Linked DNA regions of Homo sapiens: all the other regions are linked to region 1. The links are contacts of gene promoters, found by promoter capture Hi-C in human tissues and cell types (Jung and others, 2019). All regions are on one chromosome and are shown on one strand. Each heading gives the region's core, a stretch centred on a gene start or on the middle of the fragment in contact. The rest is flanking DNA. Distances are from core to core; before and after follow the strand shown. Region 1 holds the start of SP140L (SP140 nuclear body protein like). Region 2 overlaps CAB39 (calcium binding protein 39). Region 3 has its middle 98 kb from the start of LINC01907. Region 4 overlaps SLC16A14 (solute carrier family 16 member 14). Region 5 has its middle 79 kb from the start of LINC01907. Region 6 has its middle 35 kb from the start of LINC01907.

Evidence for each region. Contacts are between HindIII fragments. The study calls those that stand out against the background at their distance.
Region 2: a contact is called between a fragment that was not itself captured here and the fragment with the promoter of SP140L in region 1, in 2 of the 25 tissues and cell types used here (mesenchymal stem cells and spleen).
Region 3: a fragment that was not itself captured here is called in contact with the fragment with the promoter of SP140L in region 1 in 1 of the 25 tissues and cell types used here (spleen).
Region 4: a fragment that was not itself captured here is called in contact with the fragment with the promoter of SP140L in region 1 in 1 of the 25 tissues and cell types used here (mesenchymal stem cells).
Region 5: a contact is called between a fragment that was not itself captured here and the fragment with the promoter of SP140L in region 1, in 1 of the 25 tissues and cell types used here (lymphoblastoid cells).
Region 6: a contact is called between a fragment that was not itself captured here and the fragment with the promoter of SP140L in region 1, in 1 of the 25 tissues and cell types used here (pancreas).

Annotation. Positions count from the first base shown.
Region 1 is chr2:230,325,644-230,329,502 of GRCh38, forward strand. It overlaps SP140L (SP140 nuclear body protein like), which reads left to right and starts at 1,550. Exons shown (of 19, transcript NM_138402.6): 1 at 1,550-1,658; 2 at 3,114-3,188. The coding sequence starts at 1,627. RefSeq lists an enhancer at 1,224-1,693. The HindIII fragment of the contact is 8,396 bases long and covers 1-3,859 here.
Region 2 is chr2:230,776,384-230,780,553 of GRCh38, forward strand. The region is part of intron 2 of CAB39 (calcium binding protein 39); the gene reads left to right. Among named protein-coding and RNA genes, the nearest start is that of CAB39, 66 kb to the left of the region's middle. The HindIII fragment of the contact is 5,711 bases long and covers 1-4,170 here.
Region 3 is chr2:230,600,604-230,604,888 of GRCh38, forward strand. No RefSeq gene overlaps it. Among named protein-coding and RNA genes, the nearest start is that of LINC01907, 98 kb to the right of the region's middle. RefSeq lists an enhancer at 1,837-1,966 and a silencer at 2,107-2,186. The HindIII fragment of the contact is 4,784 bases long and covers 1-4,285 here.
Region 4 is chr2:230,051,213-230,055,436 of GRCh38, forward strand. The region is part of intron 2 of SLC16A14 (solute carrier family 16 member 14); the gene reads right to left. It overlaps LOC107985996 (a long non-coding RNA gene), which reads left to right. Exons shown (of 2, transcript XR_001739919.3): 2 at 1-542. Among named protein-coding and RNA genes, the nearest start is that of SLC16A14, 16 kb to the right of the region's middle. The HindIII fragment of the contact is 4,211 bases long and covers 1-4,118 here.
Region 5 is chr2:230,619,107-230,623,009 of GRCh38, forward strand. No RefSeq gene overlaps it. Among named protein-coding and RNA genes, the nearest start is that of LINC01907, 79 kb to the right of the region's middle. The HindIII fragment of the contact is 3,569 bases long and covers 1-3,168 here.
Region 6 is chr2:230,663,382-230,667,504 of GRCh38, forward strand. No RefSeq gene overlaps it. Among named protein-coding and RNA genes, the nearest start is that of LINC01907, 35 kb to the right of the region's middle. RefSeq lists enhancers at 160-349, 3,037-3,902, 3,853-4,123, 4,117-4,123. The HindIII fragment of the contact is 5,990 bases long and covers 1-4,123 here.

The DNA of each region.
Region 1 (3,859 bases), core at 300-2,799:
GAGAAAGAGAGAGAGAGACCTACAGGTGTGCAGTACCTGATAGAAACAGTGACCTCGCCCACTGGAAAAGCTGTCCTCACCAGTGTCTTGGCACCTGCTTATTAACTCATTTTGGGGAAAGCAGGGCACCAGTAGAATCAGGGTAGAAACCCCCCACCCTCGTATTTTCAAATGTACCTGAACAAGCATTCACAGCTTCCAACTATTGTGCAATAAACAGCAAAAAAAAAAAAAGTCCTTGAACCAAAATTGTCCTTAGCTGCTCTGCCCTCTAAGATGGGGCATAGTTTACATGGGAGTTGGGGGAGGACTCCATGTTTGCCCCTTCCCCTTGCTGAGATGGCTGGGGGTGGGGGCTGGAAAAAGTTGGATTCAGCAGAATGTAATTTGGAAAACATGGCTCTGGAGCACCATCCCCTCTGGCCCCTGAATCCTCACCAGCTTCCACCCTCTGCTCACCTTGGGCCCTGGATTCCAGCGCCCCCAGGCTCCCAGCTGCCTCCCTGTCTCTGCCCCATGGTCCAGCCTGGAGTTCTGGTCCCTGGTTGTGTCCTGTGGCCCCATTCTCATGCGCCCTTTGCTTCTATTTCTTTACCTATGACTTTATACTGATGTAAAGCGAGTCTTCTCGGTCGCTTCTTGTTCTCTGAGGAATGTTGAATCAGAATCTAAATGGAAAATCTGGGAAGAGATAGAACCTCCCGCGGGAGCCACCCTGCCCTTCCATGTCTAGATCATCTGGGTTCCAACCTCCATCCTCCTCCAATGAGAAGCTTTTGTTCTCTCAAGATTCCAGTGACTTCTCCGAAGCTCTCTTCATCCCTGGCTGTTCCAAGGTGGCCCCATAGTCAAGATTCCTTAAACCCTTGCCCCTTAAAATGTTTGCCTTTCTTACCATGCTGGCTCCAGCCTCTGGTCCCAGGGGTGTGGAGAGTTCTCTCTTACTTCTGGCTGATTTCCAGGAAGGCTAAGAACACTCTCCCCAGGTTATAATGCTGAGCATTTTGGTTCTCTCCAGCCCTGGGTCCCCATGTCAGGACCTACCTTAGTCCAGTCCATGCTCTCCCATGGGCCTGAGAGAAGATTTGAAGTTTCTGGCTTTCCCTCCAACCCTCCAACTCTCACCCCCAGCCATTTCAGCAAGGGGAAGGGGCAAACATGGAGTTTTCCCCCCAACTCCCATGTAAACTATGCCCCCTCTTAAGAGGGCAGAGCAGCTAAGGACTATTTTGGTTCAAGGACATTTTTTTTTTTTTTGCTGTCCATTGCACAAGCAAGTGGACTCCCGGAAGCCAGCCCTGCTCGTCCTCTGGGCCCTCCTTTCCCTGGTCCTGCAGGTCTTGCTGCTTGTCAGGCCTCTCCTCCAACCGTCTGCCACATTTCAGAAAAGCTGAGAACCCCTTGGAGTGAAAAAGGAGGAGAAACACGGTGTCTGTATCCCAGCAGGAAGTTAAATAAATACTTTCACTTTTCTTTTCCCCATTTGGGCAGAAATCTGTGAGGGTGAGTCAGTCTGTCGGCCGACTTCCTGCTCCGGGTCAGGGCAGCCACACTGCACGCAGGCTGGGCCGACTGGGGAGCTCATAGGCCAGGCTCTGACACCCAGGCAGGGCCTAGGGTGGGACGATGGCAGGTGGGGGCAGCGACCTGAGCACCAGGTGAGTCTTTATCTCTCTTCCTTTCACCTTTATCTCTGGCAGTATTGGAGCTTTCATGCCTGTAGTTCAGTTTCTGTCTAAAGCTTCAGTTTAGTCCTGCTTTGCAAGAACATAGGTAGGTAGTGTAATATAATGGAATAAAAGAGAATGTAATAAGGAAATCAGATTTTTACAACTGCAGCAGGACAGCTGTTTGTGTGAGTCCAGCTTGCCATAACACAGATGACTTTTCTTGTTTTGAAACTACTGCTCAGCTGGCGGGGACACTCTGAACAGTCGTTTCAGTCATTTGTGACTGAGAGTTATTATTTCCTCATGAGAATGAGGAACACAAATTATATGTTTGTGTTTCAACAAACATTTCCTCATGATCTCCCAACCCTTTCACATCCCTCTGCCCTCTCTACCTTCACATATGTCATGTCAAAGAAGGTAGTTTGGAAATAGACACTCCAGGGTAAACAGCTGGCTTACTTTTAAACATTGGAAACTGTGGTTTCACCTGTCTTGGCAAGGGGCCTCAGTCAGCTTTGGGGCTATTTCCTTGACTGACTCAGGGTGTGAGTTCTGATACAATTGACCTTGATCCAAAGAAGGAAAAAGAAGAAAAAGGCCCAGGATGGCAGAAAGCTAAATATTTTTATTTTTACTTCAATTTCCTGTCCCAAGATGGGGGATGCCTCTGACCAGAAAAGAGATGGAAATCCTATCTTTTCTCTAGTAACGAGTTTATAAATAACATTACGTAATCTTTTTATTTTATTTCATTTTTTTGAGACAGGGTCTCACTCTGTCAACCAGGCTGGAGTGCAGTGGCACAATCCCGGCTCACTGCAACCTCTGTCTCCTGGGTTCAAGCGATTTTAATCTTTTAAATTTTTTAATACAAAAGAAATACATTACATTCTTACTCATAAAATTTCAAACAGTGGAGAAGTGTATAAACGAAAAAGTCTTCTTCACCACTCACTTCGCCTTGTAGCTTCCTTTCACAGTCTTGTGAAGAGTCTTCGGCATAACTTTTCTCATATTTTTCGATGCATTTACGTGTATGAAGTATGTTTTTGTAAACATATAATTTGTGTTCTCGTTTTGTAATAAATGGAATTACATTGTGCGTGCTATTCTGCATTTTGCATTTCTACTCATTTTAATGGTGGAAATCTTAGAGATCTTTTCACCTTAATGCATATAGATCTACCTCACTCTTTTTACATATACTATTCCATAGAATTTACATAGCATAATTTTTTAACCATTCTCCAATTGAAGGACATTTAGATTGTTTTAAATTGTTCACGTTTATCAATAAGCTATAATAATGATTATATATTTCTCTTTTTTTTGCACATATGCAAGTATTTCTCTTGTGCCTAAACCTTAAAAAGTGGAATTGTTGAAGCAAAGGGTGCTGTTATTTACTTGTTTATAGATCCTGCCAAATTGTCTTTTTAGGGGGCTGAACGGAGGTGTTTCACAAGTAGCAAATGAGATGAACCATCTTCCTGCACACAGCCAAAGTCTGCAAAGGTGATGAAGAATTACAATTTGTTTTAATTTGTATTTTCCTGATAATGTGGAAAGCTGAACAGCTTTTCATGTTTCTTGGCCACTGAAATTTCCTCTTCCATAATTTTTTTGTTTATTTTTTGCCAATGTGATTCAGTTGAGGTGTTTGTCTTTTTTTCATGATATGGGAGAGTTCACTAAATATTCTGCAAAGTATAAATATACTTTTCTTGTCCCTTACATTTGTATATGGTGACTTTTATCTTATTAACAGCTTAAAATTTCATGTATAAACATCTTACGACATAGATTTTATAAGACAGATGCACCCTCATTATAAATAGTGATGCAGAGAGTTGCTGAGGCACTCTGTGAGCACGGCCAGTTTTTAAAGTCGTTCTTCTGTTAAGGTGGCAGATTTGATTCTGCCTTTGTTCCAGGAAAAGTTCCTTCTCTAAAATCTCTGACATTTTCTTTTTCAATTTTTAGGCAAAATTATTCTTACATTGGAGCAACTTCAGCCTTCACAGCTTTTATCTTCCCCGTGGTCCTTTCATCTTTTCAGTTTTTTACTTTGAGTTCACAATAGTTGTCTCAAACTTTTCCTCCATGACAATTATCTAGTGATATGGTTTGGCTCTGTGTCTCCACCCAAATCTCATCTTGAATTGTAATCAGAATTGTAATTTCCA
Region 2 (4,170 bases), core at 283-2,782, 450 kb after region 1:
CAGAGCATTGACATTGGTATAATCCACAGGGCTTGTTCAGATTTCACCAGTTTTACAGTTTGTGTGGATATGCATATAGCTCTATGCAATTGCATCACACTTATCTGTTCTCCAAGTCTATACATTTTATTACTTCAAGAATGTTAAATAAATAGAATCATATAGTGTGTAAACTTTTGAGATGGGCTTTCTTCCACTCAGCATCATTCCCATGAGATCCACACAAGTGGTTGTGAGTGTCACTAGTTCATTGCTCTGGAGAAACAAGTAGGTCATGGTTCCAGGTGCTCTGTCTCACTTCATCCACTTTTTTTCTTCCCCCCCCGAGATGGAGTCTCGCTCTGTCACCCAGGCTGGCATGCGGTGGCACGATCTCGGCTCACTGCAAGCTCCACCTCCTGGGTTCATGCCATTCTACTGCCTCAGCCTCCCCAGTAGCTGGGACTACAGGCGCCTGCCACGCCCGGCTAATTTTTTGTATTTTTAGTTGAGACGGGGTTTCACCGTATTAGCCAGGATGGTCTCGATCTCCTGACCTCATGATCCGCCCGCCTCAGCCTCTTAAAGTGCTGAGATTACAGGCTTGAGCCACCGCACCTGGCCTTTCATCCACTTTTTTAGTTTTACTTTATTCTAACTAGTATATTGGAATTCTACATTGTGTAGTAGGGAAGTGTGTATGAGTGTGTGCGAGAAAGATCTTTGTTTCCTTCATAGATTCTAATTTATTTCTGTATCTATACAAAGTCATGTTCTAATGATGTATATGATGTATGTTCATTCCCCCAAAAAGCAGAAAATACAAGACTATAAAGAAAAAAATTAAGTTTATCCTTAATTCAGTACCACGTGAAATGACTACTGTTAACTTGGTGGGGATTCTCATTCATATTCTAGCTTGTTTTCTCCCTCTCTCTGGGGCAGATAAGTAAATGAGTATGGGGTCATGCTGCTCTGTAACCTGTTGGTGTTTTTTTTGTTTTTTTTTTTTTAATTTTAAATTTTAACATCTTTTCATGTGCATATAGATCTCAATTTTGTTTTTTTTTTTTTAAATATGGAGTCTTGCTCTGTCACCCAGGCTGGAGTGCAGTGGCATAATCTCAGCTCACTGCAACTTCTGCCTCCCAGGTTCAAGCAATTCTTGTGCCTCAGCCTCCCAAGTAGCTGGGATTACAGGTACCTGGCTGATTTTCATATTTTTAATAGAGATGGGGTTTCACCATGTTGGCCAGGCTGGTCTTGAACTCCTGACCTCAAGTGATCGCCACCTTGACCACCTCCCAAAGTGCTGGGATTACAGGTGTGAGCCACCACCCCTGGCCCTCAATTATTTTTAAAGCCTGCCGTGGTTCTTCCATTTTATGGGTACGTAATGATTAAACTAGTTCAGTGGGATAACTTTTACTTCTAATTCTTTGCTGTTGTAAGTAACACTGCATGTACTTACCTTTGTGTACTTGTCTGTTTCCATAGGGTAAATTCCTGAAAGTATAATTCACAGGAAGTTGCAGAAATGAGTCAGAGGCCTTGCACCTTTTAAAACTCTTCAATAACATTTTGCCAAATTGCCCTCCAGTAAAGTTGTACCAATTTATTTTCCTACCAGTGGCGTATCTAAAAGCCTTTGCCTCTGATAAGAAGGAAGAATATTTTATCCTTTTAAGATTGTTACTATTACTATGAAATAGAATCTTTTGTAAGGTTTTTAATGTCTGACTTAGCCATTTGTATACTTCAGCATGTTACTATGTTTGTCTTTAAGTGTGCTTTCTATATTGAGGTTAGAATTGCTACTAACTACTAAAAATTGGGGACAGTGAAGAGGGCAGCCCAGTCTTGTATCTCACCAAGTAAAGTCCTGTCCCTTCATGTGGAAGTAGCCTTCTTGTCACCTTGTTTCCTAACGTAAGGCCGGTTTGGATCTACTGAGTGCTTGAGTCCAGAGGAGGAGTGTTGGTAAGGGCTGTGAGTACTTCAAGGACATTGCATAGAAGCACTAATGGGTATGTGAGCTGTCTTCTCGAGTCTTCTGAAATTGTACTTTTGTATCACTACTTTTTATCAGCAATTGCCTCTAGTGACAGTAAAATAGTGCACTGATAGGTACCGTGGGAATATTGGATTTAAGTCAAGAGAGTTAATACGAAACCTCCTGAGGTTTTGGTGATCTCTGAAAAGGCCATTTGTACTAATGTTTAGCTTACTAATTGCTTATTTTCCCACCCTGTTTTATTTTTTAATGGGAAAGCAGGCAGTGAAAAATCTCATAGCCTTAGTGCTACTTGAAGAGGTTATTATGGACTCTATCCTTAAAAATTTGAAGTCCTGTTACACGTTACTTAACAACAGGGATACATTCCAAAAAATGCATCATTAGGCGATTTCTTCCAGCCTGTTGCTCCTAGGCTACAAATCTGTGTAGCTTGTTACTATAGCGAATACTGTAGGCAGTTGGAACACAATGGCAAGTATTTGTTTATCTAAACATAGAAAAGGTACAGCAAAAATATGGTATTGTATCTGTGGGACCACAGTTGTCTCTGTGGTCTGCTGTTGACCAAGACGTTATGTGGTGCGTGACTATAGTTACCTATGTCCTCACCCTGGGAGGGAAAGTTTAGTTTCTGATACTGTTATTAGTGAGGTGAGCATTAGGTGTGAACTTTGGGATACTGGTTACTACTTAAGTTGATCCTAACACTTAAATATTTTAACTTTAAAAAATTATTAAATGTAATTAAAGATGAAGTTGTTATCATTTGATCATATGTGGAAGTCAGGCTCCATAGTTTAGAATTAATATGCCTGGCCCCATGGGACATAGGGACTTCACCTCTCAACTCAGAGCCTTGATCTGAGAAGCTTTGCCAAGCCCCAGACCCTTTCCTCTGTGCTGTGCTCTTTTGGAGCCTCCACACTCCCACCACATACGGCTGCTCTGTACAGCCACACAGGATGAAGCACTTCTCAGAAGCCATAAGGAAACAGCTAAGAACTGAAACAAAACTCTGTACCTCCCTCCCAGACGAGTCAGCAGTAAGGGATGATCCGCATCTCTTTCTAGGCAAGTGAGTGGGCTTGTTATAAAGGGGGGCTGTTCTCTTATGCCTTTCTTCTTGACCATGATCTATAAAACAGTTGGCTACTTTTAATAAAGCAGTCTGCCCATGAAAAGTAATATGAGGCTAACTGGTACATAGAAATGTAGCATCTGTGTCTTGGAACACCATGTTCAACTGAGGAAACTTCCCAGACAATTCAGTCAGTTAACAAAATCATCAGGTCATTCCATGTGTAAATTGCCATCATAAGCGCTTTCCAAAGCCCTTGAATGTGTTAGGGAGATGAGAGGTATGTGTGAAAGGTTATAGCACTTACAAGGTCAGCAACTGAAATAAGGTCACAGCTGCTGTAGGCATCAGAGGAGGAGAGAGTCATGGGAGGGAGGAGAGTCTTCCTGGATGCAGGAGCTCTTAAGAGTGGAAAGAAGGAGTGTGAGCATTCAGGCTTTTATGTTAGCTTGAGTAGAGACAGAGATGTCCAGGGTGAGAGAAGGAATGTAGATGACAGGGCAAAAGAGAATTGAAGACCTTTATTTGGAGTTTGAGATCTTAAAGAAATGGAATGGGTCTTAGGGGTCATCTGGTCCAGTTCCCTTAATTATCGGATGGTCCAGTAAGACCCAACAGGTTTCCATGAGGCCACAGAACTGGCACAATTGCACAGGGGGTACCTGAGTCAAAGCTAACCTCCTTTTTGTTTGGGAGCCCTTTCTCCAGTGCACAGAGAGAGCCATCAGCCTTGGAACTAAGTAGGATGCCCCTTACCTGTGAAGAAAAGGCAAAAAGATTATTGATGAACTTATCAGACTTACAGAATGGTTTAGAAGAGTGCCTTTCACCCAGCCTCCCTAAATGTTAACGTCTTTTATAACCACAGGGCAATGATCAAAATCCAAAAAATAACATTGGTATAATACTATTAACTAATGCACAGGCCTTTTTCAAGTTTCATCAGTTGTCCTACTCATGTCCTTTTTCTGAACCAAAATCTAATTCAGGATCACACGTTACATGTAAGGAGTCGTAACATCTCCCTAGGTCTCCTTTAATCTGAAACAGTTCCTCAGTCTTTCTTATGACTTTTATGACCCTTGGTACTTCTGAG
Region 3 (4,285 bases), core at 732-3,231, 280 kb after region 1:
TTCAAAAAATAAAAAATACGGGCGGGGCACGGTGGCTCAGGTCTGTAATCTCAGCACTTTGGGAGGCCAAGGCAGGAGTTTCAGACCAGCCTGACCAACACGGTGAAATGCCCATCTGTACTGAAAATATAAAAATTAGCCAGGCGTGGTGGCATGCACCTGTAGTCCCACCTACTCGGGAGGCTGAGGTAGGAGAACCATTTGAACTCGGAAGGCAGAGGTTGCAGAGAGCCGAGATCGCACCACTGCACTCCAGCCTGGGTGACAGAGCAAGACTCAGTCTCAAAAAAAAAAAAAAAAAAAAAAACTACCATAGGATCCATCAATTCCCACTACCGGGTATATATCCAAAGTAAATTAAGGACAGGCACAGTGGCTTAACCCTATAAATCCCAACACTTCTAGTTATACGGTATAGCCGTAAAAAGTGAAAGCATTACCTTGGATATTTGCATACCCATGTTTACAAGAGCATTCAGTGGCCATGCACAATGGCATGGTATTCAGCCATGAAAAGGGAATAAAATATTGATATGTGCTGCAGTGTAGATGGACCTTGAAAACACTGGGCTAAGTGAAAGTAGCCAGACATGGAAGGACAAATGTGTGATTCCACTGATCTGAGGTACCTAGAATAAGCAAATTCATAGAAACAGAGAATAGAATCGAGGTCACCAGGGGATGGGAGGAGGGGGAAGGAATGTGGTGTTATTTGTATAACGGGTAGAGAGTTTACATTGGGAATGACAAAAAAGTTTTGGAAATAGTGGTGACGTTTACACGAATGTATTGTGAATGTATTTAATACCACTGAATTGCACACTTACAAATGACTAAATGAGAAATTGATAATGCTAAATAGTCATATATATTAACAATGAAATGATAACTATTATGTATACTTTGCTACAATAAATAATAATAATAATGATAATGGGAGAGGACTCATGTTATTTGAATGTGGAGCTTCGTGTTAATTAGTCCAACTAAGCTATCACATGCTGCTCTCTGGAGCGTGGGGACAGACAATAGCGCTGAGCATAACTGGGGACAGAAAAATAAATTGGCGGGGGCAGGGAGGCTCAGCTTAGTTGAGAGTGGGATTTTGTAGAGAATGAATGTCATGACCAATATCAGAAGTTTCTCAGAGCCACAGTTGAGCTGCTTTTTCTGCTGGTTTCAGGTGACGGCAAAACAGTGGCACAGGTGTGGGCCTGAAGCCCGCATAATGGAGCTTTCCCCTCCTCCCTGGATTCAGCCACACCCAGGACGAATGAGGTTTGGCTGCAAAACTTAATAGTTTGGGGGGTTTGGGGGTTTTTGTTTTTTGTTTTTTGAGACCGAGTCTCACTCTGTGTCCCAGGCTGGAGTGCAGTGACATGATCTTGGCTCACTGCAACCTCCACCTCCCGGGTTCAAGCGATTCTCCTGCCTCCGCCTTCCCAGTAGCTGGGATTACAGGCCCCGCCACCATGTCCGGCTAATTTTTGTATTTTAGGAGAGATGGAGGTTTCACCATGTTGGCCAGGCTGGTCTCAAACTCCTGACCTCAAGTGATCCACCTGACTCGGCCTCCCAAAGTGCTGGGATTACAGGCGTGAGCCACCGCACCCGTCCAATTTAATGGTTTAAGAGAATATGAGGCCAGGCACAGTGGCTCACACCTGTAACCCCAGCACTTTGGGAGGCCAAGGCTAGTGGATCACTTGAGGTCAGGAGTTCAAGACCAGCCTGACCAACATGGTGAAACCCCATCTCTACTAAAAATACAAAAACTAGCCAGGCGTGGTGGTGCACACCTGTTATCCCAGCTACTTGGGCAACTGAAGCAGGAAAATCACTTGAACCCGGGAGGCGGAGGTTGCAGTGAGCCAAGATCATGCCACTGCACTCCAGCCTGGGTGACAAGAGCAAAACTCCGTCTCAAAAAAAAAAGAGAAAACAAAACAAAAGTGAGGAAATCAAGGGGAGGGAAATCACTGCCCCAGCTCAGGGTTCTTGCCCCGAGGAAGGAGCTGCACTGCCAGAGTCCCTTTCAGGCACCCTCCAGGAGGCCACCAACCCCCAGCTGCAGTGCCTGCATGACAAAAGTTCAAGTTCAAGGGCCTGGCTTCCCCTCTGTTCCCCGCCCCCACACCCCCACCCACCCCCAGCAACACAGACAGGAAGCAGGGCTCACTTCCTGCACCAGTGCACTTACAGGAAGTCAGCTGCTATCACAAGTGCAGCCACCTGAGAGCCCAGGCCCTTTCCCAGAACCCCACCCATACCTGGTGGGGCTGATGTCCAGCTAGGGTGCTACACTAAAGCCCTACACAGTACTGAAGCATTAACACGCTTTTAACCCAGTTAGGGAAAAGCCACTGCCCTGAGCCCGTTGAAAGAGCTCAGGAAATGCCACCCCAAAATATGCTGCTTTGGTGTGCCGATCACTTTGAGCTGAAGACACTTGAGAAAGACCAAAGGCAGAGAGACGTTTTCCCTGAACTCCCCCTGTCTGCCTAAAGACAGATCCCCAATCCCCTCCCAGGGAGTTTCGGGGAAATGAAAATCAAAACCACAGTGAGATACCATCTCACACCTGTTAGATGGCTAGCATCAAAAGGTGAAAAGGTAACAGGTCTTGGCAAGGATGTAGAGAAAACACATATATGTTGTTGGTAGGAATGTAAATTGGTGCTGCCATTCCGTAAAACAGTGTGAAGTTTCCTCAAAAAATTAAAAATAGGGATTAGGTGGGGGTGGCTGGCAAAATGGCCAAATAGGAACAGTTCCAGTCTGCAGCTCCCAGCAAGATCAACATGGAAGGCAGGTAATTTCTGCATTTCCAACTGAGGTACCTGGCTCATCTCATTGGGACTGGTTAGACAGTGGGTGCAGCCCACAGAGGGTGAGCCAAAGCAGGGTGGGGTGTCACTTCAACACCCAAGAGGTCAGGAAACTCCCTCCCCTAGCCAAGGGAAGACATGAGGGACTGTGCCATGAGAAACAGTGCACTCCAGCCCAGATACTACACTTTTCCCATGGTCTTTGCAACCTGCAGACCAGGAGATTCCCTCAGGTGCCTACACCACAAGGGCCCTGGGTTTCAAGCACAAAACTGAGCAGCCATTTGGGCAGACACCGAGCTAGCTGCAGGAGTTTGTCTTTCCATAACCCAGTGGCGCCTGGAATGCCAGTGAGACAGAACCATTCACTCCTCTGGAAAGGGGGCTGAAGCCAGGGAGCCAAGTGGTCTAGCTCAGCAGATCCCACCCCCATGGAGGCCAGCAAGCTAAGATTGACTGGCTTGAAATTCTTGCTGGCAGCACAGCCATCTGAAGTTGACCTGGGACACTTGAGCTTGGTGGGAGGAGGGGCGTCCACCATTACTAAGGCTTGAGTAGGTGGGTTTTCCCTCACAGTGTAAACAAAGCCACTGGGAAGTTCGGAATAGGTGGAGCCCACCACAGCTCAGCAAAGCTGTTGTAGCCAGACTGCCTCTCTAGATTGCTCCTCTCTGGGCAGGGCATCTCTGAAAGAAAGGCAGCAGCCCCAGTCAGAGGCTTATAGATAAAACTCTGACCTCCCTGGGATAGAGCACCTGGGGGAAGGGACGGCTGTGGGCGCAGCTTCAGCAGACTTAAACATTCCTGCCTACTGGCTCTGAAGAGACCAGCAGATCTCCCAGAACAGCACTCAAGCTCTGCTAAGGGACAGACAGCCTCCTCAAGTGAGTCCCTGACCCCTGTGCCTCCTGACTGGGAGATACCCCCCAGCAGGGGTCGACAGACACTTCATACAGGAGAGCTCTGGCTGGCATCTGGCAGGTGCCTCTCTGGGATGAAGCTTCCAGAGGAAGGAACAGGAAGCAATCTTTGCTGTTCTGCAGCCTCTGCTGGTGATACCCAGACAATCAGGGTCTGGAGTGGACCTCCAGCAAACTCCAGCAGACCTGCAGAAGAGGGACCTGACTGTTAGAAGGAAAACTAACAAACAGAATGCAATAGCATCAACATCAACACAAAGGACAACCACACAGAAACCCCATGCGAAGGTCACCAACATCAAAGACAAAAGGTAGATGAATCCACAAAGATGAGGAAAAACCAGCACAAAAAGGCTGAAAATTCCAAAAACCAGAATGCCTCTTCTCCTCCAAAGGATCACAACTCCTCACCAGCCAGGGCACAAAACTGGAAAAAGAAGGAGTATGACAAATTGACAGAAGTAGGCTCCAGAAGGTGAGTGATAACAAACTCCTCCAAGCTATAGGAGCATGTTCTAACCCAATCCAAGGAAGCTA
Region 4 (4,224 bases), core at 763-3,262, 270 kb before region 1:
TTCAGTGGTGTGATCACGGCTCACTGCAGCCTTCACCTCCCTGGGATCAAGCGATCCTCCCATCTCAGCCTCCTAAGTAGCTGGGCCTAGAGGCTTGTGCTATCATGTCCTGCTAATTTTGTATTTTTTATAGAGATAGGGTTTCGCCGTGTTGTTCAGGCTGGTCTAGAATTTCTAGGCTCAAGGGATCTGTCTGCCTTGGCCTCCCAAAGTGCTGGGATGACAGGCTTGAGCCATGGCACCTGGCTGACTTTCTAGTTCTTAATTGTCAACCTTCTTTATTCTCCTCCTGATTTTGTAGTAATTTCTGATGTCACTGAAGCTGAAAGCTTATCTTGTGATCAATGATTCCTTGTTTAAATAGGAATCCAGATTTATATGAGCTAGTACTCAATATTCAGTAAGATGGCATATTTTAATTATCTTATTTTTGATCATTACAAAGTTATGAAACCTTATATGCAGATGAACTATATTAAAAACTTGTTTAAAGAGCTTCCCTTTTGGCTTAAACTGAAATAAAGTTTCCTTTAAAGTTCTAACTATATTCATGTGTATATCTGGGTACAGTCAGCTAATGAGTTTATTTTGTCTAGTGGTTTTGTGGGTGCCTAATCCTAAAAACTATGAAGGTGAAGACTTATTAATTTAATTAACTCTGTTGCATTACAGGAAATAATTCAGTAAATTAACTCCTTAGAATAGACTTAATATATTAAACATACTTTTTTTTTTTTTTTTTGAGACGGAGTTTAGCTCTGTTGCCCAGGCTGGAGTGCAGTGGCGCGATCTCGACTCACTGCAAGCTCCGCCTCCCGGGTTCGCGCCATTCTCCTGCCTCAGCCTCCCGTGTAGCTGGGACTACAGGCGCACGCCACCATGCCTGGCTAATTTTTGTATTTTTAGTAGAGACGGGGTTTCACCGTGTTAGCCAGGATGGTCTCGATCTCCTGACCTCGTGATCCGCCCGTCTCGGCCTCCCAAAGTGCTGGGATTACAGGCGTGAGCCACCGCGCCCGGCCTAAACATACTTTATATAAATGTTATTTGTTATTAAATATGCACATTATAGAAATAATATATAAAATAAATGCACTGATAAAAAATCTGATGGAATTACTGGGGTTAACTGAAATTCACATACCGTAAGTTAGAGATACTTGTCTGATTTCTTTACACATTTTTATTTTTGTTTTTCTAAACCCATGGTTACTTGACTATGCCTAGCTTGGATGAGTGGGTAAAAAAAAGAAAAATGCATGACTTGTCAGTTTGCTGTTTGTAGCCTTTTCAAAGGTCAACAGATCACAGTTCAGTAGCACAATCATATTTTCCACTTCACAGAAAGGGCCCAGAAGCAAATTTTTCTGAGGTGCTTTATGAAACATTACATTAAAAAGGCGTTTGAGAAAAAAAAAAGGGAGAAAATTCCAAACTCAGTGCAAATATTCATGTCTGGAGGAATTTTATAAATTTAAAAAAGTATAACTATTTAACTGCTAAAAACATTAACTAAACAGCCAGGCACTGTTACAACTTAATCAACTCTCGCATGCTGGGGCTTCAGTCATTTATGATTTGCAGATGAGCCAAGCGAGACCCAGAAATGCTGTGACTTCTCCATGGTTATAAAATATATGTACATTGAAAAAAAAATAAAAACCCAAGCTTTTTGACTCTCAGTTTCCTCCCTCCTCCCCCCCTTCCTTCCCTTTCTTTCTCTCTCTCTTTCTTTCTTTCTTTTTTGAGACAGAGTTTCACGCTTGTTGCCCAGGCTGGAGTGCAGTGGTGCCATCTCGGCTCACTGCAACCTCTGCCTCCTGGATTCCAGCGATTCTCCTGCCTCAGCCTCCTGAGTAGCTGGGATTACAGGTGCTTGTCACCATGCCCAGCTAATTTTTTGTATTTTTAGTAGAGACAGGGTTTCACCATGTTGGCTAGGCTGGTCTCAAACTGCTGACCTCAGGTGATCCACCCGCCTCAGTCTCCAAAAGTGCTGGGATTATGTGAGCCACTGTGCCAGCTGAGTTTCATTTTCTACCCACTGTTTACTGATGGTCCACTAGCATTGCCAAAATCAAACCACCATTTCCAGAAAATAAAAGAAGTCCCCTCACAATCTAAGGAGAAGGGGGAATCATACAATTGAGATACAATCCTTTGACCATGACTCACACTTTTATAGAGTAATTCAGTGTTTTAGGATGAGATTATTCACATTATCTGACTTTTTCATTTTCAGAAGAAATCTGAATCTTGGACCATTTCCCACTGTAATAAAGTGTCCTGGCCAGGTGTGGTGGTTCACACCTGTAATCTCAGCACTTTGGGAGGCCGAGGTGGGTGGATCACGAGGTCAGGAGTTCAAGACAAGCCTGGACAAGACGGTGAAACCCCGTTTCTACTACAGCTACAAAAATTAGCCAGGTGTGGTGGCAGATGCCTGTAATGCCAGCTACTTGGGAGGCTGAGGCAGGAGAATCGCTTGAACCTGGGCAGCAGAGGTTGCAGTGAGCTGAGATCGCACCACCGCACTCCAGCCTGGGTGACAGAGTGCGACTTCATCTAAAAAAAAAAGTGTCCCACTGCTGTGGGGAACACCCTCAGGAAGTTATATTTTATTGACCCATCCTGGCAGCTGACAGGTTGGAAAAAAGCGCTGGTAGAGGAGCAATCACAGGTGAGCCTTGGCAGTTCTCAGGGATGGTTACAGATGCTTTGAACTCCAGGTCTCTTAGGGTAACCCCTCACCATAGTAAAGAGTTAGGAGCCTCTAAATCAATGAACTGTTTGCCTTAGCTGAACAGTGGTGTTGCTTAGGAGCTTAAAAAAAAATCCTGATACTTGGAGCCCATCCCAGGTGCAGCCTGAGGTGGGGGGGGAAGTTAAAGCTCCCCAGGTGGATCTGATGTGCAATCAAGATTGACAATCACTGCTATAAAGTGATTTAGCAAGTCATTTATCTTGTGTAGCCTGTGGATTCCCCCAACAATAGGGCATCCCCCAAGAATGATTCAGAGCTAGCCTCACAAAGGCTGCTGTAGATACTGTGAAAAGAAAATACAGACTTGGCACCCCAATTCACTCTGCCAAAAGAAAAAAATTAAGCTGAAAGCTGAGTCATGCAAGCAACTGCCTTTCCTTTTATTCCTAAGCAGTTAGTCACAGAGAAAGGGTTATATAGCTCCACAGGTAGCTACTCTATGTTCACCTTATTTTATGTAAAAGTGCTGATTTACTGAGTGTGAGATGAATACAAAATTGATGATTCCCCTATCTGCACCTTTTCTCTTGCAACACGTGGATGACTGTACCCTCCCTTTCTCCTCCAGCCCCCTTTTCCCCTTTAAATGTTGAAGTCCTCAAAATCATCTTTGGAGAAAGGCACAGGTAACAGACTGTTTCTGTGATTCTGTGTTTATTTCTTCTGGGCACCTCCCTACCCTTGGCTAAATTAACTTCCGGATTGATTGAGACCAGTCTCAGATATTTTGTGGTTTACAATACAAATGAGGTGATTACGTTTTATTAAAAGTTGGGACCTTCTGCAGGATGGTGATGAATTCATGCTACTCATGGGGCTGAGGCAGGAGAATCGCTGGAACCCAGGAGGCAGAGGTTGCAGTGAGCCGAGATCGTGCCACTGCACTCCAGCCTGGGCGACAGAGCGAGACTCCATCTCAGAAAAAAAAAAAAAAGAAGAAGAAAAAAAGAAAAAACCACGGACCTTTCTAAATTTAACAGGTAGCCCAAATGTGCTTACAATGATTAGAACGTAAAAACCATTTGTATTATTCATTTCAAGTATGTTTTCAGTTCTCATTTGATGTAATGGCAGGCAGTGTCATAGTAGACACAATTTTGGAGTCCCATGGACCAGGTTTAAAGCCAGTTCTACACTTACTGGCTGTTCAACCTTCAGTAAGTTACTTAATGTCTCTGAGTGTTGCATATTCTTCCTCTGTAAGATACAGACAATGGTCTGGCCTCCAGTGTTGTAGGATCAAATGAGATCATGTACATTAACGTGCATGTGGCATGCAGTGCGTGCTAAATAAAGGAGAGCTGTTACTGCGCGTTTCTGGCTTGGAAAGCTTCCCTGAGGCTGCTCAACAAATCTGCAGCCACCCTGTACCAGGAAGCTTGGGATAATGGACAATAATTTTAGGTAAATAGATAGAATAAAAGACCTTTCATTTATATAACTATGAGGCCTGCTGTGTT
Region 5 (3,903 bases), core at 134-2,633, 290 kb after region 1:
AAAAAAAGAGAAAGGAAAGGGAGGGGAGGGGAGGGGAGAGGAGAGGAGGGGAGAGGACGGGAGGGGAGGGGAGGGGAGAAGAGAAGAGAAGAGAAGAGAAGAGAAGAGAAGAGAAGAGAAGAGAAGAGAAGAGAAGAGAAGAGAAGAGAAGGTCACTTCCAAGATGGCCAAATAGCAACAGCTCCAGTCTGCAGCCCCTAGCGAGATCAATGCAGAAGACGGTTGATGTCTGCATTTCCAACTGAGGTACCTGGTTCATCTCACTGGGACTGGTTGGACAGTGGATACAGCCCATGGAGGGTGAGCTGATGCAGGGCAGGGTGTCGCCTCACCTGGGAAGTGCAAGGGGTTGGGGGATTTCTCCTTCCTAGCCAAGGGAAGCCATATGACAGACTGTACCTGGAGAAATGGTATACTTCTGACCAAATACTGCACTATGCCCACAGTCCTAGCAACTGGCAAACCAGCAGATACCCTCCCATGCCTGGCTCAGCGGGTCCCATGCCAACAGAGCCTTGCTCACTGCTAGCACAACAGTGTGAGATCAACCTGCGATGCTGTAGCTGGACGAGCGGAGGGGAGTCCGTCATTGCTGAGGCTTGACTAGCTCACAGTATAAACAAAGAGGCCTGGAAACATGAACCGGGCGGAGCCCACCTCAGCTCAGCAAGGCCTACTGCCTCTATAGATTCCACCTCCGGGGGCATGGCATAATAGAACAAAAGGCAGCAGACAGCTTCTGCAGGCTTAAATGTCCCTGTGTGACAGCTCTGAAGAAAGCAGTGGTTCTCACAGCATGGCATTTGAACACCAAGAACAGACAGACTACCTCCTCAGTTAGGTCCCTGACCCCCATGTAGCCTGACTGGGGAACACCTCCCAGTAGGGGCCAACAGACACCTCAAACAGGCGGGTGCCCCTCTGGGACAAAGCTTCCAGAGGAAGGATCAGGCAGCAATATTTGCTGTTCTGCAGCCTCTGCTGGTGATACCCAGGCAAACAGGGCCTGGAGTGGACCTCCAGCAAACTCCAACACACCTGCAGCTGAGGGGTCTGATTGTTAGAAGGAAAACTAACAAATGAAAAAAATAGCATCAACATCAACACAAAGGACATGCACACCAAAACCCCATCTGTAGGTCACCAACATCAAAGACCAAAGGTAGATAAAACCACAAAGATGGGGAGAAACCAGAGCAAAAAAGCTAAAAATTCCAAAAAACAGAGCGCCTCTTCTCCTCCAAAGGATCGCAGCTCCTCGCTAGCAAGGGAACAAAACTGGACAGGGAATGATTTTGAAGAGTTGACAGAAGTAGGCTTTAGAAGGTCAGTAATAACAAACTTCTCCAAGCTAAAGGAGCGTGTTCTAACCCATTGCAAGGAAGCTAAAAACCTTGAAAAAAGGTTAGATGAATGGCTAACTAGAATAAATACTAGAGAATACCTTAAATGACCTGATGGAGCTGAAAACCATGGCACGAGAACTTCGTGATGCATGCACAAGCTTCAATAGCTGATTCGATCAAATGGAAGAAAGGATATCAGTGATTGAAGATCAAATTAATGAAATAAAGCAAGAAGACAAGATTAGAGAAAAATGAGTGAAGACAAACGAATAAAGCCTCCAAGAAATATGAGACTATGTGAAAAGACCAAATATACATTTGATTACTGTACTGGAAAGTGACAGGGAGAAGGGAACCAAGTTAAAAAACACTCTTCAGGATATTATCCAGGAGAACTTCCCTAACCTAGCAAGGCAGGCCAACATTCAAATTCAGGAAATACAGAGAACACCACAAAGATACTCCTCCAGAAGAGCAACCCCGAGACACATAATTGTCAGATTCACCAAGGTTGAAATGAAGGAAAAAAAGTTAAGGGCAGCCAGAGAGAAAGGCTGGGTTACCCACAAAGGGAAGCCCATCAGACTAAGAGTGGATCTCTCGGCTGAAACCCTACAAGCCAAAAGACAGTGGGGGCCAATATTCAACATTCTTAAAAAAAAAAAAAAACAATTTTCAAACCAGAATCTCATATCCAGCCAAACTAAGCTTCATAAGCAAAGGAGAAATAAAATCCTTTACAGACAAGCAAATGCTGAGAGATTTTGTCACCACCAGGCCTGCCTTACAAGAGCTTCTGAAGAAAGCACTAAACATGGAAGGCAACAACCAGTACCAGCCACTGCAAAAACATGACAAATGGTAAAGACTATCGACGCTATGAAGAAACTGCATCAATTAACGGGCAAAATAACCAGCTAACATCATAATGACAGGATCAAATTCAAACATAACAATATTAGCCTTAAATGTAAATTGGGCTAAATGTCCCAATTAAGAGACACAGACTGGCAAAGTGGATAAAGAGTCAAGACCCATCGGTGTGCTGTATTCAGGAGACCCATCTCACATGCAGAGACACACATAGGCTCTAATAAAGGGATGGTGGAAGATCTACCAAGCAAATGGAAAGCAAAAAGAAAAGCAGGGTTTGCAATCCTAGTCTCTGATAAAACAGACTTTAACCATAACCAAAACAAAGATCAAAAGAGACAAAGAAGGCCACTACATAATGGTAAAGGGATCAATTCAACAAGAAGAGCTAAGTATCCTAACTATATATGCACCCAATACAGGAGCACCCAGATTCATAAAGTAAGTCCGTAGAGACCTACAAAGAGACTTAGACTCCCACACAATAATAATGGGAGACTTTAACACCCCACTGTCTATATTAGACAGATCAATGAAACAGAAAGTTAACAAGGATATCCAGGACTTGAACTCAGCTCTGGACCAAGCAGACGTAATAGACATCTACAGAACTCTCCACCCCAAATCAACAGACTATAACTTCTTCCAAGCACCACATCACACTTATTCTAAAATTGACCACATAATTGGTAGTAAAATACTCCTCAGCAAATGTAAAAGAACAGAAATCACAACAAACTGTCCCTCAGACCACAGAGCAATCAAATTAGAACTCAGGATTAAGAAATTCAATCAATCGGCCGGGCGCGGTGGCTCACGCCTGTAGTCCCAGCACTTTGGGAGGCCGAGGCGGGTGGATCATGAGGTCAGGAGATCGAGACCATCCTGGCTAACAGGGTGAAACCCCGTCTCTACTAAAAATACAAAAAATTAGCCGGGCGCAGTGGCGGGCGCCTGTAGTCCCAGCTACTCGGGAGGCTGAGGCAGGAGAATGGCGTAAACCCGGGAGGCAGAGCTTGCAGTGAGCCGAGATTGCGCCACTGCAGTCCGCAGTCCGGCCTGGGCGACAGAGCGAGACTCCGTCTCAAAAAAAAAAAAAAAAAAAAAAAGAAATTCAATCAATCAAAACCACACAACTACATGAAAACTGAACAACCTGCTCCTGAATGACTACTGGGTAAATAACAAAATGAAGGCAGAAATAAATATGTTCTTTGAAACCAATGAGAACAAAGACACAACATACCAGTATCTCTAGGACACATTTAAAGCAGTGTGTAGAGGGAAATTTATAGCACTAAATGTCCACAGGAGAAAGCAGGAAAGAGCTAAAATTGACACTTTAACATCACAATTAAAAGAACTAGAGAAGCAAGAGCAAACAAATTAAAAAGCTAGCAGAAGGCAAGAAATAACTAAGATCAGAGCAGAACTGCAGGAGATAAAGACACAAAAAACCCTTCAAAAAATCAATGAATCCAGGAGCTGGTTTTTAGAAAAGATCAACAAAAAGACTGCTAGCAAGACTAATAAGGAAGAAAAGAGAGAAGAATCAAATAGACACAATAAAAAATGATACAGGGGATATCACCACCAATCCCACAGAAATACAAACTACTTCATCAGAAAATACTATAAACACCTCTATGGAAATAAACTAGAAAATCTAGAAGAAATGGATAAG
Region 6 (4,123 bases), core at 460-2,959, 340 kb after region 1:
GTAACTAAAAACTAGAGTAACAGGGATTTTTTTTTTTTTTTTTTTTTTTTTTTTTTTTTTTTGTCTCATACAAAAAAGGAAGTTTAGAGTTGGCAGTCAAGGGCTGGTACCATCGCTTAGGGGTCAGCCAACATCAGGACTCCTCCTGTTCTCCTCCACCACACTTAGCATCTGGCTTTTCCCCTCATGGTTGAATATGGCTGCTGCACCTCCAGGCGTCCAAACTGTCTTCCAAAAAGTTAGAAGGAGAAAACGATGAAGTCAAAGATCAAAGAGAAAGGGCTAAAGAGCATGCCAGTTGAATCTGTTTCTTTTTAAATATCCACCCACCAGTCAGGCATGGTGGCTCATGCCTATAATCCCAGGACTTTGGGAGACCGAGGTGGGTGGATCATCTGATGTCAGGAGTTTGAGACCAACCTGACCAACGTGGTAAAACCCCATCTCTACTAAAAAGAGAAAAAATTAGCTGGGTGTGGTGGCGGGGGCCTGTAATCCCAGCTACTCGGGAGGCTGAGGCAGGAGAATCACTTGAATCCACGAGGCAGAGATTGCAGTAAGCTGAGATCGCGCCATTGCACTCCAGCCTGGGCAACAAGAGTGAAACTCCAGCTCAAAAAATAAAACAAAAAAAAAAGTAAATTTCCACCCACTGACTCCTGCTCTTATTCCACTGGGCAGAACTAGGTCAACATGACCACCACTACATACAAAGGATCCAAGGAAGTAGTTGAGCTGGACACCTTGCCACCCCCCAAAGGCAGGATGCTGTTAGTAAGGAAGAAGGGGAAACTAGATACTGGGTAGGTGCCCAGCATATGCTCTCAGCTGAGCTCAAGTGCAGTGAGGGTGGGCGGTGCATCACAGCCCTGGCCCAGGGCCACCCCCAGGACTGGGAGGAGAGCCCAGAGCTGAGAGGGGCAGAGCCTGGGCTGCAGGTCTCTGAGTCTGCATGGTATGGGCAGTCTAGTGGTGGGAAGATTTTCTCCCTCCCCCTCCCCACTCACTTATGTGCACCGGCATCCACGCAGCCTCCACTTTCACAGGCTGAGGTGCTGTCTCATTTCTCTCACCCTCTGCCACACCACCCCTTGGGTCTCCCTGACATTGCGCTGCTTTCTCAGGCCTTGGCTGGAGCACAGTGCAGAGGGGGTGGGGATGGGGGAGCACTCCTCATCGCTGCTTTTCAGAGGATCCCCCTCCACTCTTCAAAAGAAAGGATGGGAAGTGGGGTGTGGGGCTGTGTGCTAAGGAAGGCTCTCCTTCCAGCTTCTACTGCCTGCCCCCCACCTCAGGATCAGAAGTGGGGGGCTCCAAGGGCCCCTCATTCCAGAGCCCATGGGCTAAAGCAAGTAAAGATGAGTGAGGATTAAAGCAAAAGGCAAACATGAGGACACAGAGCCTGCCCTCCCTGTCGCAGCAACCTGGTGAGGATGAACTCAGAGGCTGGCCCTAGTGGTGGAAAGTTAAGGAAAGACTGCCAGAAGATGAATGCCAAAAACCTAGGGCTCCCCTTCTTCCTCCCCATATCCAAGCCCTCATCCTCCTTAGACATACATCCAGAGTCTGACTGCTCCTCCCGCCTCCACAGCCACCACCCTGGTCCATCCTTTGTCCCGACTCACGTAGATCATGACATCTCTCTCCTTCCTGCACGTCCAGCCGCCCCAACCACCCTCATCACACAGCCAGACCAGCCCTCTCGTGTTTCCCAAATCTCCATGATGGCTCACAGGTTCCCATGGATTCCTGTGGACTCCCAGGATCACTTCAGCCACAGGGAAGTGTGCTCCTGACTCAGGGCCTTTTCATTTCTGGTACCTTCTGCCTCGGAGGCCCTTCCCCCTGGAGCCCTGGGCTGACTCCCTTACCCTTCAGACTTTCACTAGCATCTACCAGAGCCTTCCTCTGACCTCCCTGTGTTAATGACAACAGCTCTCCACCCTGCTGCATACCCTAACATGCTGAGCAGCTTTCTTTTCTCCACACCACGTGTTGCCACCAGACAAAAGTGCTACAAGCTCCTGGAGGGAGGGACCAGGTCTATAGTTCACTGCCATATCCACAGTCCCTCATGTACTCCCTCAGTGCTTGCTGAGTGAGTGAGTGAATGAATGAATGAGCGAACCACAAGAATATTATTTGACCTCAAGAACACCGCAGGAACTGGCAGGGGGACCATGATCTTCCTGAACGCTCTGCATGAGATGACTTGGCAGATCCCACGGACTTGCCTTCTTAAAACCACCCTGGAGGCCGGGCACGGTGGCTCATGCCTGTAATCCTAGCACTTTGGGAGGCCGAGGTGGGCTGATCACGTGAAGTCAGGAGTTCAAAACCAGCCTGGCCAACATGGTGAAACCCCATCTCTACTAAAAATACAAAAAAAAATTTGCCTGCATGGTAGCGGGTGCCTGTAATCCCAGCTACTTGGGAGGCTGAGGAAGGAGAATTGCTTGAACCCTGGAGGCAGAGGTTGCAGTGAGCCAAGATTGCACCACTGCACTCCAGCCTGGGTGACAGAATGAGACTCCATCTCAAAAAAAAAAAAAAAAAAAAAAACCCACCCTGGAAACAGGGAGAGAATCAGAGCGAAAGCTTCCAGTTCAAACGCAGGTTGAGAATGAGGTTTGCAGAGCCAGCGGGCAGTGAGTGCTGACCGAGAAGACCCATGGCGGCCCACTGCAGTGGGGGCGGCGGCAGTGTGACCTTGTTGAAACTAGCCGCTCCAGTGACCCAAGGCTGGGGGAGATTTGGCTCTGCTACTTTCCAGCACTGTGAGCTTGGGAGCCTTACCTGCTCCGAGCTTCAGTTTCCTTACTTGTATAATGGGGATTAAATAACACACTTTTTTTTTTTTTGAGATGGAGTCTCACTCTGTTGCCCAGGCTGGAGTGCAGTGGCACTATCTTGGCACTATCTGCAACCTCCGACTCCCGGGTTCAAGCAATTCCCCCGCCTCAGCCTGCCCAGTAGCTAAGATTACAGACACACGCCACTACGCCCAGCTAATTTTTGCATTTTGGGTAGAGACGGGGTTTCACCATGTTGGCCAGGCTGGTCTCGAACTCCTGACCTCAAGTGATCCACCCACCTCGGCCTCCCAAAGTGCTGGAATTACAGGTGTGAGCAACCACGCCCAGCCCTAACACACTTTCTTTATTGCCCTTGAATCAACCGCATTCCAAGGCCAACGTCATTTGGAAAGGTTGACCTAGATTTCCTTTTCCATCTCCACTGGGACCTCCCCTTTCACCCACCGGAACCCAGGAGGCTCTGATGCCTTGAACACACAGAAGGGCTCCTAATCTTTTGTACATCAAAGTCGCCCCAGCTTCTTTGCTGCCCAAGCTCACTGGTGTGGTTTCCTAATGTCCCCGACAGTTTGGGAGATCTCTGCCAAGGCTGGCCACCTGGTACCAGCCCAGGTGCCCCACCTGTCTCCCACCCCCAGGTCTCTGGTCACCTCCTGGATACTGTGAGTACTGGAGAACTTGCTGCTTGGGGACACCAGCACTCTCTCCCCTGAGGGCTGGGGCATATGCTCTCCAGACCCACCTTTCTCCTTCCCTCTCAGGACCCCTGGAGTGATCTCATCAACATCTGGCTTAACTCATCAGGGGATTTTCTGCAAGTGAGAAGGCTAATGCCTCTGGGGCCAGGCAGGCCTGGTGAATGTATGACAAAACTGCAGGGCATGGTAGGAGCGTGTACTGGTTTTCTAGGGCGCCGTAATGAAGTACACACAAACTGGGTGGCTTAGAACAATGGAACTGTGTCGACTCACAGGTCTGGAAGCCAGAAGCCTGAAATCGAGGTGTTAGCAGCACCATGCTCCCTCCAAAAGCACTGGGAAGGATCCATTCCAGGCCTCTCCCTGAGTTTCTGGGGGTTGCTGGCCGTTTTTGGCATTCCTTGGCTTGGAGACACGTCACCCAGTCTCTGCCTTCAGCATGTGGTATCTTCCCTGTGTGTGTCTGTGTTCCCATTTCCCCTTTTTCGAGGACAGAAGTCAGATCAGGGGCCCACCCTACTCCAGTATGACCTCATCTTAACTCATTACATCTGCAATGACCCTCTTTCCAAATAAGGTCACATTCTGAGATACTGGCAGTTAGAACTT